Regions from separate parts of the Homo sapiens genome. Here region 2 is linked to region 1. The links are contacts of gene promoters, found by promoter capture Hi-C in human tissues and cell types (Jung and others, 2019). All regions are on one chromosome and are shown on one strand. Each heading gives the region's core, a stretch centred on a gene start or on the middle of the fragment in contact. The rest is flanking DNA. Distances are from core to core; before and after follow the strand shown. Region 1 holds the start of SLC15A5 (solute carrier family 15 member 5). Region 2 has its middle 4.2 kb from the start of MGST1.

Region 1 (5,796 bases), core at 1,937-4,436:
TCTTGGAGGGTTACCAAATATCCCCTCCAAAGACGGCAAATGCTGTTGCTCTTACTAACTCAAGTGTCCCCAAACCACAGGTTACCACCACCTGGAGCCTGATCTTTTTTTTTTTTTCTTGCTGATTTGTAATGCTTTTTTTTTTTTTATACTTTAAGTTTTAGGGTACATGTGCACAACGTGCAGGTTTTGTTACATATGTATACATGTGCCATATTGGTGTGGTGCACCCATTAACTCGTCATTTAGCATTAGGTGTATCTCCTAATGCTATCCCTCCCCCCTCCCCCCACCCCACAACAGGCCCCAGTGTGTGATGTTCCCCTTCCTGTGTCCATGTGTTCTCATTGTTCAATTCCCACCTATGAGTGAGAACATGCGGTGTTTGGTTTTTTGTCCTTGCGATAGTTTGCTGAGAATGATGGTTTCCAGTTTCATCCATGTCCCTACAAAGGACATGAACTCATCATTTTTTATGGCTGCATAGTATTCCATGGTGTATATGTGCCACATTTTCTTAATCCAGTCTATCATTGTTGGACATTTGGCTTGGTTCCAAGTCTTCGCTATTGTGAATCGTGCCGCAAGAAACATACGTGCGCATGTGTCTTTATAGCAGCAGATTTATAATCCTTTGGGTATATACCCAGTAATGGGATGGCTGGGTCAAATGGTATTTCTAGTTCTAGATCCTTGAGGAATCACCACACAGACTTCCACAATGGTTGAACTAGTTTACAGTCCCACCAACAGTGTAAAAGTGTTCCTATTTCTCCACATCCTCTCCAGCACCTGTTGTTTCCTGACTTTTTAATGATCACCATTCTAACTGGTGTGAGATTTCACTGTGGTTTTGATTTGCATTTCTCTGATGGCCAGTCTGAATTGTTTGGCTCCTCTCTGTATACTTGCTCAAGATCAGGCTCAAATGCAAATGGAGCCTGATCTTGAGCAAGTATACAGAGAGGAGCCAAACAATCCAGATGGGATCATCATCAGGCCCTGGGAAAGAGCAGTGCTACTCTGCTTAGGAAGGAGCACTTTGTCAGGGTCTAAAGAAATCAGCCAGTGGCTAGAGAACAGCTTGCCCTTGCATCTAGGGTAAACAAAAAAGTAAAGTATCATTTAGGGTTCTTTGTAAGCCACACAAGCCAAATGGGGCTAACTAAATCAAACCAAAATTAATGGGAATTCTTTGAGCCTTCTACAGAAGGAAAAAGTAATCGTAGCTCCAGAAGAAAAAGTATCAGGGAGGTGCTGAGTTCATCAGGGCCTCATGGGCAGTCCCTTTTGGGTACTGCTGATATGATTTGACTGTGTCCCCACCCAAGTCTCATCTTGAATTGTAACTCCCATAATTCCCAAGTATTGTGGAGGGACCTAGTGGGAGGTATTTTCATCATGGAGGCAGTTTCCCCCATACTGTTCTCATGGTAGTGAATAAGTCTCACTAGATCTGATGGTTTTATAAGGGGTTTCCCTTTTCGCTTGGCTACGATTTTTCTCTCTTGCCTGCTGCCATGTAAGATAATGCCTTTTGCCTTCCGTCATGATTGTGAGGCCACCCCAGCCAGGTGAAACTGTAGGTCCATTAAACCTCTTTCCTTTATAATTATCCAGTCTCGGATATGTCTTTATTAGCAGCATGAAAACAGACTAATACACTGCCATCTGAATAACTCAGCTGCCACCATGCCCATTCTTAAGTCATTCCACTCAAGATTAAAATTCCACAGGAGAAAAGTAAAAGGACTATCTTAGACCGGGTGTTGACCCACTTGGTTAGAAGAAAAGGCATATGCTGATCAACAGCCCCACCATGATCTCAGGTAATAGATAGGAGTCATTCTCCAAAGGTAGGGTGAACACATGTTAGAGTGTTGCCCTGGACAGTCCCAGTTTATAACTGTTTTTTTTTTTTGGGGAGTAACCATAAATAGCATCACTTTTCACCTGCACAAAACTGTCCAAGTTTGGATCATAAATTGCATGATCAATTTACACAAAGGAAATTTAGGGCATCGTTACCAAAGTAGCAATGCTGAGCAGAGACAAATAGCTACCATTACAATGAGGCTATTAGAAGGGGTCAAAACAGAGTATTTTGCCCCCAGTCTCTCACAACCAAAAGATGATAACCAGAGTCAAAAGTCCCTATTGGTCTTTAGGTTTTGACTACAGCATGAAAATAACATTCCTATACTCAAGTGTTGAATTATTATGACTTTGACCCAATAGTTCCGGTCCCTTTTCTTCCTATGTCCTTGCAGCTAAGCCACTAAATGTTAAGGTGTTCTCTTTCACTGCTGCTTTTTTAGCTTAATTGGCCCTCCTGCTTTCCAAAATAGAATGCTAACACCCATTCACCCAGCTGAAGGGTCAGGGTGATACCAGATCCAATATTCCCCAAAGCCTGTGTAGGCTGGTTGCTGTATCCCTGACTACTGATTAATAATAAAGGAGTTAAATAGCACCTTTTGATTCTGATTTCCTCTGAGAGGCTGTTCTACAAGCATGGGGTCAACTAAAAGGAAGCAGGGTTTCGTTTAATATTTTCTCCTTTCATTAGTGCACTTAAATTACTTTCTTGTAAACTCTGCTTGTTACCTAAATGTACTAGCACTTTTGTTACCTAATTAAGTTTCTTATCAGAATTCCAACCAAAAATAACAAGAAATGTAATAATGATAAGATATCGTGCCCTTCAAAACAGATTTCCTTTTGCGCTTTATCTCTTGGTACTGTTCTGGCTTGTTTAATTAAAGTATCAGAAATTATTAGACTCAAATTATTTCTTGATCTAGTGCTCAAATTCTCCCGAAAACCTGCTTCTTCTGCCTCAATATTTAAACCTTTATCAGTATGAGGCAGATGAGTTTCCACATGTTTGCAACTGGATTCATGTAATTCAATACAATTTTGGAGGACGATCCTAATTTAGCCGCTAAGTAATTAAGCAAACAAATCAGATTTGGGTACACTGAGCTACTGTGAACATTTAAATACTCATGCTCTTGGATCATCAAAAGGAACAACGTCCATGTGCAAAAAACAAACCTTATGAAATTCTAGCATGGAGATGTGAAATTCAAAGCAACGTTCTTATTTTTTTCATCAGAGGGATGGGGCTCAAAATATCACCAAGTTCAAACCACTAACATAAGTTTTGTTCAAGGAGGGTAGTCATGTCTGTTACAGGCTTTACCATAACTGATGAGAAAGTACACTTATATCACAGCATTGAGAAGGAGAAAACTGTAAGACATATTGGCGATTTGTGTTCCTCACACTCTGTGAAAAAAATTCAGGTTGGAATCTGCTTGCTTCTGGTGGAGCTGTGTGAGAGGTTCACGTTCTTTGAAGTCGTCTGCAACATGATCCCCTTTTGCACTATCAAGCTTGGCTATCACAATTGCCAAGCAGCCATCTTAAACTTGTGTTTTATTGGAACTTCAATACTTACCCCTGTGTTTGTCAGATGGCTCACTGATGTCTATTTAGGAAGAAACAAACTGGTGTACATTTGCTTGTTTCTACATTTTCTAGGTGAGTGTCCTCTGCTGACTGGATTGTTTTGTGACTTAATTAAGTAGATTTTTGTTAGAATTTTTAGTTTATATTATTTTCACTCTGCTCTTAGCATAAAATGTGATAAATGAAGTAAGAATGTGGGTTCAATGTATTTCATTCTTTGTACTATTTGAAGAATGCTAGTAAGTCTGTGTGTGTGTGTGTGTGTGTTAGAGAATGTTTTGTGCCTATATCATTGCATTTATATTTTATAATAATTACTCCTTTACATATCTATCTTACTCCTTAGAATGCCCTCCTTTCCCAAAACCTTTTTACCTCAAGCCTAAATTCATGACAAATTCCCTCAGAAATGTGAAATGTATTTGCTTCACAACTAAGATGAAATGTGCTAAAAAAGGTTTTTGAAGTTCATGTAAAATAATTGAGAAATGTTTTTATCCAAAGGTGGTCTTTTAATTAGTCATATAGTAATTAAGATTGCATATGATGGCATGATTTCTATATTTTTAACTATGATTATATGCTTTAGAAATGAGTAAATTAGACACTATAGTGTGCATCTTTACATATATACTAATATATATCTGCAAAAGTTTGGGACCGATTGTGAGAAATGCTGGGAAAATATCAAGATAGTTTAATAAGAAATAGAGAGCAACTTGAAGAACAGACTAGAATTTTAAACTGAAAAGTTCAAGTTATTCTTCTTAAGCAACAAGAAGTCTCTGAAAATATCATGAAAACAACATTTGAGAAATGCTATTCTGCAATACAGGATGGACAACCACAGTGAGGAATTAAATAGAGAGAGATCAGAAAATCTCAGGATGATGGTTTAAGCAATAAAGTGCCAATTCAGGAGAGAACAAGTGAAAAGCTGTAAGGCAACTAAATAAAGGTACAAATGTGATGGGGGTCAAAAATTAGCTCCAAGTTTCTGATCTGAGCAACTTGGGAATATAGCATGCTGTTCACCAATAATGAGAAGTGCAGCTGAAATGAGTATTGGTAGGGGGACAGATGAGAAAGAGATGGATAGATATCAGGTACTCAACATATCACACAATCTCAGGCAGGTGGTAAATTACCATTCAGAGAATCCATTGGAGTTTAAGTCAAACCTGGAAACTTCACAGCTTTAGTTCTGTGGAATAAAAACTAGGTCACTGCATGGCAAATAATCACTCAACATTCAACAAATATTTCTTATTGACTACTCTGTACCAGACATTATTCTGGGTCTGGAAATGCAATAGAGAAGAAAGTCGTCTGTTCCTGCTAAAGTTGACTTTTTGGTGCAGGGAGAGAGAAAATAAAAGAGGAAATAGATATGATGTCATGTGGCAATGAGTTAGGATGGAAAAATAAAGCTGGGTAGGGGGACAGGATGGAATGGATGGTGATGAGGCTGCTACTTGGTACCGAGAAAAAGTTTTCTGATAAGAAGACATTTAAGCAAATCCCAGACTAACTTACTCTGCTTACCTTGGTAACAGGCCACACCAGTAGCATTTGTTGACTTCTTGTTTAACATGGTAATTTCTATCAGTCTAAATTCTGAGGTCAGTCATCAGACAGGATGGAAATCCCAACTTTGGAATCTGGCAAACAAAAGACTTAAGTCAACTCTACATCCATTCATTTTTTTACTAAAAGTTATTTCTTTGTTGCCCTCCACTTACAGCTGCCATCAAATTCCAACTGTCACTAAATTTCAGAGGTTATATATAAGAAAGGTCTTCTGTCTGAATTGCTACTACCCTAGCTGAAAAAATGCAGCTTTCTTCTTTTTAACCATTCCAATGGCCTACTTACTCGGCTGCCAGTTCTCAGTCAGTCTCCAGCTTGTACTCCATTCTACCAACAACACTGACTTCCTGAACAAATAAATCTCTATATTGCTTCTATTATCTAAAAAATGAAATCCAAACTTATTAATTTAGCATACAACAACCTTACCAACCTATTCTAAGTTCACCTCTCTAGACTTGTTGTTCAACACGCAACCCCAACCTTGCTAACTTCTCCTGGCCTCCTTCCCTAGTTTTCTAATCTTGTACATGCTCTTCTCTCTTTCTGAAATTGTCACCTTCCCTTATCTTTCCATCCCTTATCCATGATTGGAAAACTCCTGCTATTCTTTCAAGAACCAAATAGTGTTTGTTGCTAGCTTCTCTGTGTTCAACCACACCCATATAATACTTATACGATTGCATCCATCACTTTATAATATAATTGTCCACCTGCATGGCTGACTTCTCT
Region 2 (5,796 bases), core at 875-3,374, 66 kb before region 1:
CGGAGTCTGCCTGTGTAGCCCAGGCTGGAGTGCAGTGGCGCGATCTCAGCTCACTGCAAGCTCCGCCTCCCGAGTTCACACCGTTATCCTGCCTCAGCATCCCAAGTAGCTGGGATCACAGGCACCTGCCATCACGCCTGGCTAATTTTTTGTATTTTTAGTAGAGACGGGGTTTCTCTGTGTTAGCCAGGATGGTCTTGATCTCCTGACCTCGTGATCCACCTGCCTCAGCCTCCCAAAGTGTTGGGATTACAGGCGTGAGCCACTGCGTCCAGCTGGTTCTAACATTTTTTTAAAAAAGAAAGTAGCACTTGACTCATCTAATGCTCTAAATATAGAATGTGTTCAAACTATTAATTGATCAATGAATAAATACTGAGTTCCTACTATCACTAAATCACGAACAATTATTGCCTGTTACATACATATATATATGTGTGTGTGTGTTTGTGTGTATCAGGCAATATTATATATATACATACGGATATATATATGACACTGTATTGGGTAGAATATTAGCAGTTGGTTTAATTGAATAAACATTTATTAAATGAATGCAATGTACTTGGTTTGATGCTAAAATCTAAAACTAAGATAAATAACGTCAAAGAGCTGTCCTCCAGGATTTTACAATCTAGTAAACACAAAGGCCAAAAAGGTAAAAAGTTGCCATTAAGCTTGTGGAAGGAAAGTTTCCATTTAGAAATAAGAATGACAGTTGGGGTGTGAACTAGGGCGGTAACAGGTAAAAGTTGTAAAATAATTGACACTTTATATTCATCTTTGTTATAAGCTCTTAAATGATTGAGAAAGAGAGAGAGTTGTTATTCAGCTTAGTTTCGTCTGGGTAAAAGAATGGATTCAGCTTTTCAACCCTTCCTCTCACCACCATTTAAATTCTAGAATACCATCTTTTAGAGAAACTCAATCCAAGCCTCAGAACAAGTAATTCCCTAGTAAATATTAAAACAGTTTAAAAGGTCATTGATTTGGGGTGAGGAGAGCAAAGGTCATTCATCTGAAAAAGGAATTACCACAATAAAGAAAAAAAAAGCAGACTGTTCAGGGGATCAAATTAGAAATATCTGGAAGAGCAAAGCATTGGAAGTCCAGTAATACCTTTGTCTGTTTTTAAAACAGACAAAGTAAAAATGGCAGAAAGAATTGCCATCACCTTCTGTTAAGGCTTGCTGTAAATAGGAAGAAAACAGGTGCCTGTCACTCCCCTCAATTATATTGGGGCCTTTGTTTTTCCCTAAATCCACAGAACAGGTGCCCTGCCACAATCTGAAACTTACTGGGGGATTTCAGTAAACTTGCATAAGAATATGTTTTAAGGTCAAGAGAGCAAAAAGTGAAACAAAAATAAGCAATATTCTGAACACTTAAGGATTATTTTAGAGTTATAATACATTTTAAACATGTATACTAGATTGTTTATTTCTCCCAATAACCCTATAAGGGAGTTCTTATTTTTCCTATTTTTTAGACAGACACTCTGAGATACACAGCAGCCTGAAAGCTGTGCTAACTTCTGAAATAAACTCTTAAGCTAATATTGTCAAGAGGCAAAAGTAGCCACGATGAAAGGAACAGAACTAAAAAATGATAAAAATTCTTGAAGCTAATCAAGAGAGTATAGTAAGGGTATAAGGATAGACAAATAGGTCAAAAGAATAGAATAGAATCCAGAAATAGAACTATATTTAATTGATCAATTGATTTTCAACAAGGTGCCAAGACAATTCACTGAAGAAAGGAAAGCTTTCAACAAAAGGGGCTGGAACCACTGAATAGCCACATGGTAAAAAAATTGAACTTTGACCCTTAACTGACATCATACACAAAAATTCAAGCTGAATCACAGACCTCAAGGCTAATACTATAAAGCCTCTGGAAGAAAACCTCGATTATCTTCATGACCTTGGGGTCGGTAAAGACGTTTTAGGCAGGAAACAAAAAATTATCTATAAAACAAAAAAAAACTGATAAATTGAACTTCATCAAAAGACATTATTAAGAAAATAAATAGGAAAGCCAGAGACTGAGAGAAAATATTCCCAATACCATGTATCTGACAAAGAACTTGTATGCAAAAGAACACCTATGACAATAATTGAGACAAAAGTAGAAAATTAAAAATTGAAAATATTCAAAATATTTCAACACTCACAAAAGAAGATATATGAATGACTAAGAAGCACATGAAAAGGTATTCAATGTCATTAGTCTTCACAGATAGGCAAATCAAAACCACAACGATTTGCTTCTTCCCAAAAATTGAAAAGGCAAGAATTAAAGACAAACAAAATCAAACATTGGCAAAGCTGTGGAGCAAATGAAACCATCATACATTGCCAGTGAGGGTATAAAATGGAATCAAATAGTAAAACTGTCTCATAGTTTCTTATGAAATAAACATAGAACTGTTTTATAATCCAACAATTCTGCTTCTAAATACAGTATTCACCCAAGAGAAATGAAAGCATATGGCCACCAAAAAGATTGTTCAAGAATGATTTTAATAGCTTTATTCATACTTACCAAAAACTGGAAAAACCATAATGTTCATCAGCAGAAGAGTGCAAAGACAAGTTGCGGTATATTCATACAAGGAAATGCTAACTACATCACATAAAAAAGTAAGAAACTACTGATACACACAAAAATATCTAACTAAATTTCAACATTACACCAAGCAAAAGAAACCAGACCCAAAAGAGTATGATTTCATTTACATTAAATTAAAAAATAAACAAAACTAATGTATAATAATCAAAATGATAATAGTGGTTGTTTCTAATGGGGTGGGGGCAGTGATTAGCTGGAAAGGAGCATGGCTTAGTTTGCTCAGGCTGCTATAACAAAATACCTTAGACTGGGTAATTTATAAACAACAGAAAATTTATTTCTCCCAGTTCAGCAGGCTGGGAAGTCCAAGATCAAGGCACCAGCAGATTTGGTGTGTGCCAGGGCTGCTCTTTGCTTGTAAGATTGCTCCTTCCTGCTGCTTCCTCACATGACGGAGGGGGCAGGGGAGCTCCCTTCAACCTCTTTTATAAAGGTATTAATCCCATTCACGACAGCTCCACCTTCATGACTTAATCACTCCCCAGTAACTATACTTATATCAGATAAAATAGACTGCAAACTAAAAACAAACAGAGACAAAGAGGTCACTGTAAATTGATAAAGGGGTCAATTCAGCAAGATAAAACAATTATAAATATCTATGCACCCAACACTGGCACTCCTAAGCATATAAAACAAACATTAATAGATATAAATGGAGAGATAGACTGCAATGCAATAATAGTAGGGATTTCAACACCTGACTGTCATTAATGGACAGATCTTCCAGACAGAAAATCGACAAAGAAACATCAAAGTTAAACTATACTCTAGACTAAGTAGGTCTAACTGACATTTACAGAACATTTCACCCAACTGCTGCAGAATACAGTCTTTTCATCAGCACATGAGTTCTCTAAAATAGACCATTTCTTAGACCACAAAACAAGTCTCAACAAATTCAAACAAGTAGAAATCATTCCTGGTATCTTTTCTGATCACAATGGAATAAAACTAGAAATCAATAACAAGAGGAACCTCAGAAAATACACAAACACATGAAACTTAAACAACTTGTTCCTGGATGACCAATGGGTCATTGAAGTAATTGAGAAGGAAACAACAATTTCTTAAAATAAAGAAAATGGAAATACAACATAACAAAATCTATAGGATACAACAAAAGCAGAATGAAGAAAAAAGGTTTATAGCAATAAACATGTATATCAAAAAAGTAGAAAGACTTTAAATAACTTAATGATGCACCTCAAGGAACTAGAAAAGAAAACAAACCAAACCTCAATATAAGTAGAAGGAAAGAAATCATAAAGATCAGAGCTGAAATTTGCATGAAATTGAGACTAAAAAAAAACACAGAAGATCAATACAATAAAAAGTTGGTTTTTTGAAAAGATAATCAACAAACCTTTAGCTAGACTAGGAAAAACAGAGAGAAGAGTCAAATAAATGAAATCAGAAACAAGTAGCGCATGCCTGTAATCCCACCACTGGGAAGACTGAAGTGGGAGGATCACTTGAGGCCAAGAGTTCAAGATCAGTCTGGGCAACATAGGGAGACCTCATCTCTACAAAAATAATAATAATAATAATAATAACATTAGCCAGGTGTGATGATGCTACATGGAGGGTGCTATGTGGAAGATCACAGGAGCCTAGGAGTTTTTGGCTACAGTGAGCTATGATTGTGCCACTGCACTCCAGCCTGGGTGACAAGGTGAGACCCTGTGTCTGGAAAAAAAAAAAAAAAAAAAGAAAGAAACAAAAAGGAGACACAACAACTGAGACTATGGAAATATAATGAATCACTAGAGACTATTATGAACAACTACATGCCAACAAATTGGAAAATCTAGAAGAAATGGGATAAATTCCTGGGCACACATAGCCTATCACCATTGAGCCAGGAAGAAATAGAAAACTTCAACAAACCCCTAACGAGTAACAAGATTGATGCTATAATAAAAAGTCTCCCATCAAAGGGAAACCCAAGGCCTAATGGCTTCACTACTGAATGCTACCTGAACATTTAGAGAAGGACCAATTCTACTCAAATTCTTCAAAAATAAATAAATAAATACATAAATAAATAAGAGGGAACACTTTCAAACTAATTCCATGAGGCCAGGATTTCCCTGATACCAAAAGCAGACAAGGAGACAAGAAAAGAAAGCTACAGGCCAATATCACTGATGAACATAGAGGCAAAAATCTTCAACAAAATACTAGCAAACTAAATTCAACAACACACTGAAAAAGATAATTTGTCACAATCAAGTGGGATTCATCCCAGGGATGCAAGAATGGTTCAACATACATAAATCAATAAACATGACATATCATATTGATAGAACCAAGAATAAAAAAACATGATCATTTCAATAGATACTGGAAAAGCATTCAATAAAATTCAACATTACTTATTTTATATATATGTGTATATATGTATACATATATATGCGCATATATATGTGTATATATGTATACATATATGTGTGTATATATGTATACATATGTGTGTGCATATGTATACATGTGTGTATGTATACATGTGTGTGTATATGTATACATATGTGTGTATATGTATACATGTGTGTGTATGTATACATATATGTGTGTATATGTGTATACATATATGTGTATATATGTATACATATATGTGTGTGTATATATGTATACATATATACACACACATATGTATACAGATATATGTATATATATAAAACCCTTAGACAAGCGTGTGGTGGCACATGCCTATAGTCTCAACTACTCAGGAGGCTGGGGTATGAGGAACCCTTGAGCACAGGGGTTCGAGGCACCAGCCTGGGCAATATAGTGAGACCCCCATCTCTAAAAAGCAAAACAAAGCAAACCCCTCAACAAACTGGGTATAGAAGGAACATACCTCAAAATAATAAAGCCCATATAAGATAAACCCACAGCTAGTATCATACTGAGCAGGGAAAAATTAAAATCCTTTCTTCTAAGATCTGGAACAAGACAAGGATGCCCACTATCACCACTTTTATTCCACATAACACTAGAAGTCCTGACCAGAGCAATTAGGCAAGAGAAAGAAAGAAAGAGCATCCAAACTGATTTCATCTTTACAAATTAATGAATGTATTAAATTATCACATATACCCCAAAAATATGGACATTTATTGTGTATCATTGAAAAGTAACATTTTTTTTTTTTTTGACAGA

The links. Contacts are between HindIII fragments. The study calls those that stand out against the background at their distance.
Region 2: a contact is called between a fragment that was not itself captured here and the fragment with the promoter of SLC15A5 in region 1, in 2 of the 25 tissues and cell types used here (H1 embryonic stem cells and small bowel).

The regions. Positions count from the first base shown.
Region 1 is chr12:16,275,075-16,280,870 of GRCh38, reverse strand. It overlaps SLC15A5 (solute carrier family 15 member 5), which reads left to right and starts at 3,186. Exons shown (of 9, transcript NM_001170798.1): 1 at 3,186-3,546. The coding sequence starts at 3,186. LOC101928362 (a long non-coding RNA gene) reads right to left here. Exons shown (of 11, transcript XR_001749028.1): 10 at 5,020-5,135; 11 at 4,346-4,678. The HindIII fragment of the contact is 12,619 bases long and covers 1-5,520 here.
Region 2 is chr12:16,340,500-16,346,295 of GRCh38, reverse strand. No RefSeq gene overlaps it. Among named protein-coding and RNA genes, the nearest start is that of MGST1, 4.2 kb to the left of the region's middle. The HindIII fragment of the contact is 4,250 bases long and covers 1-4,249 here.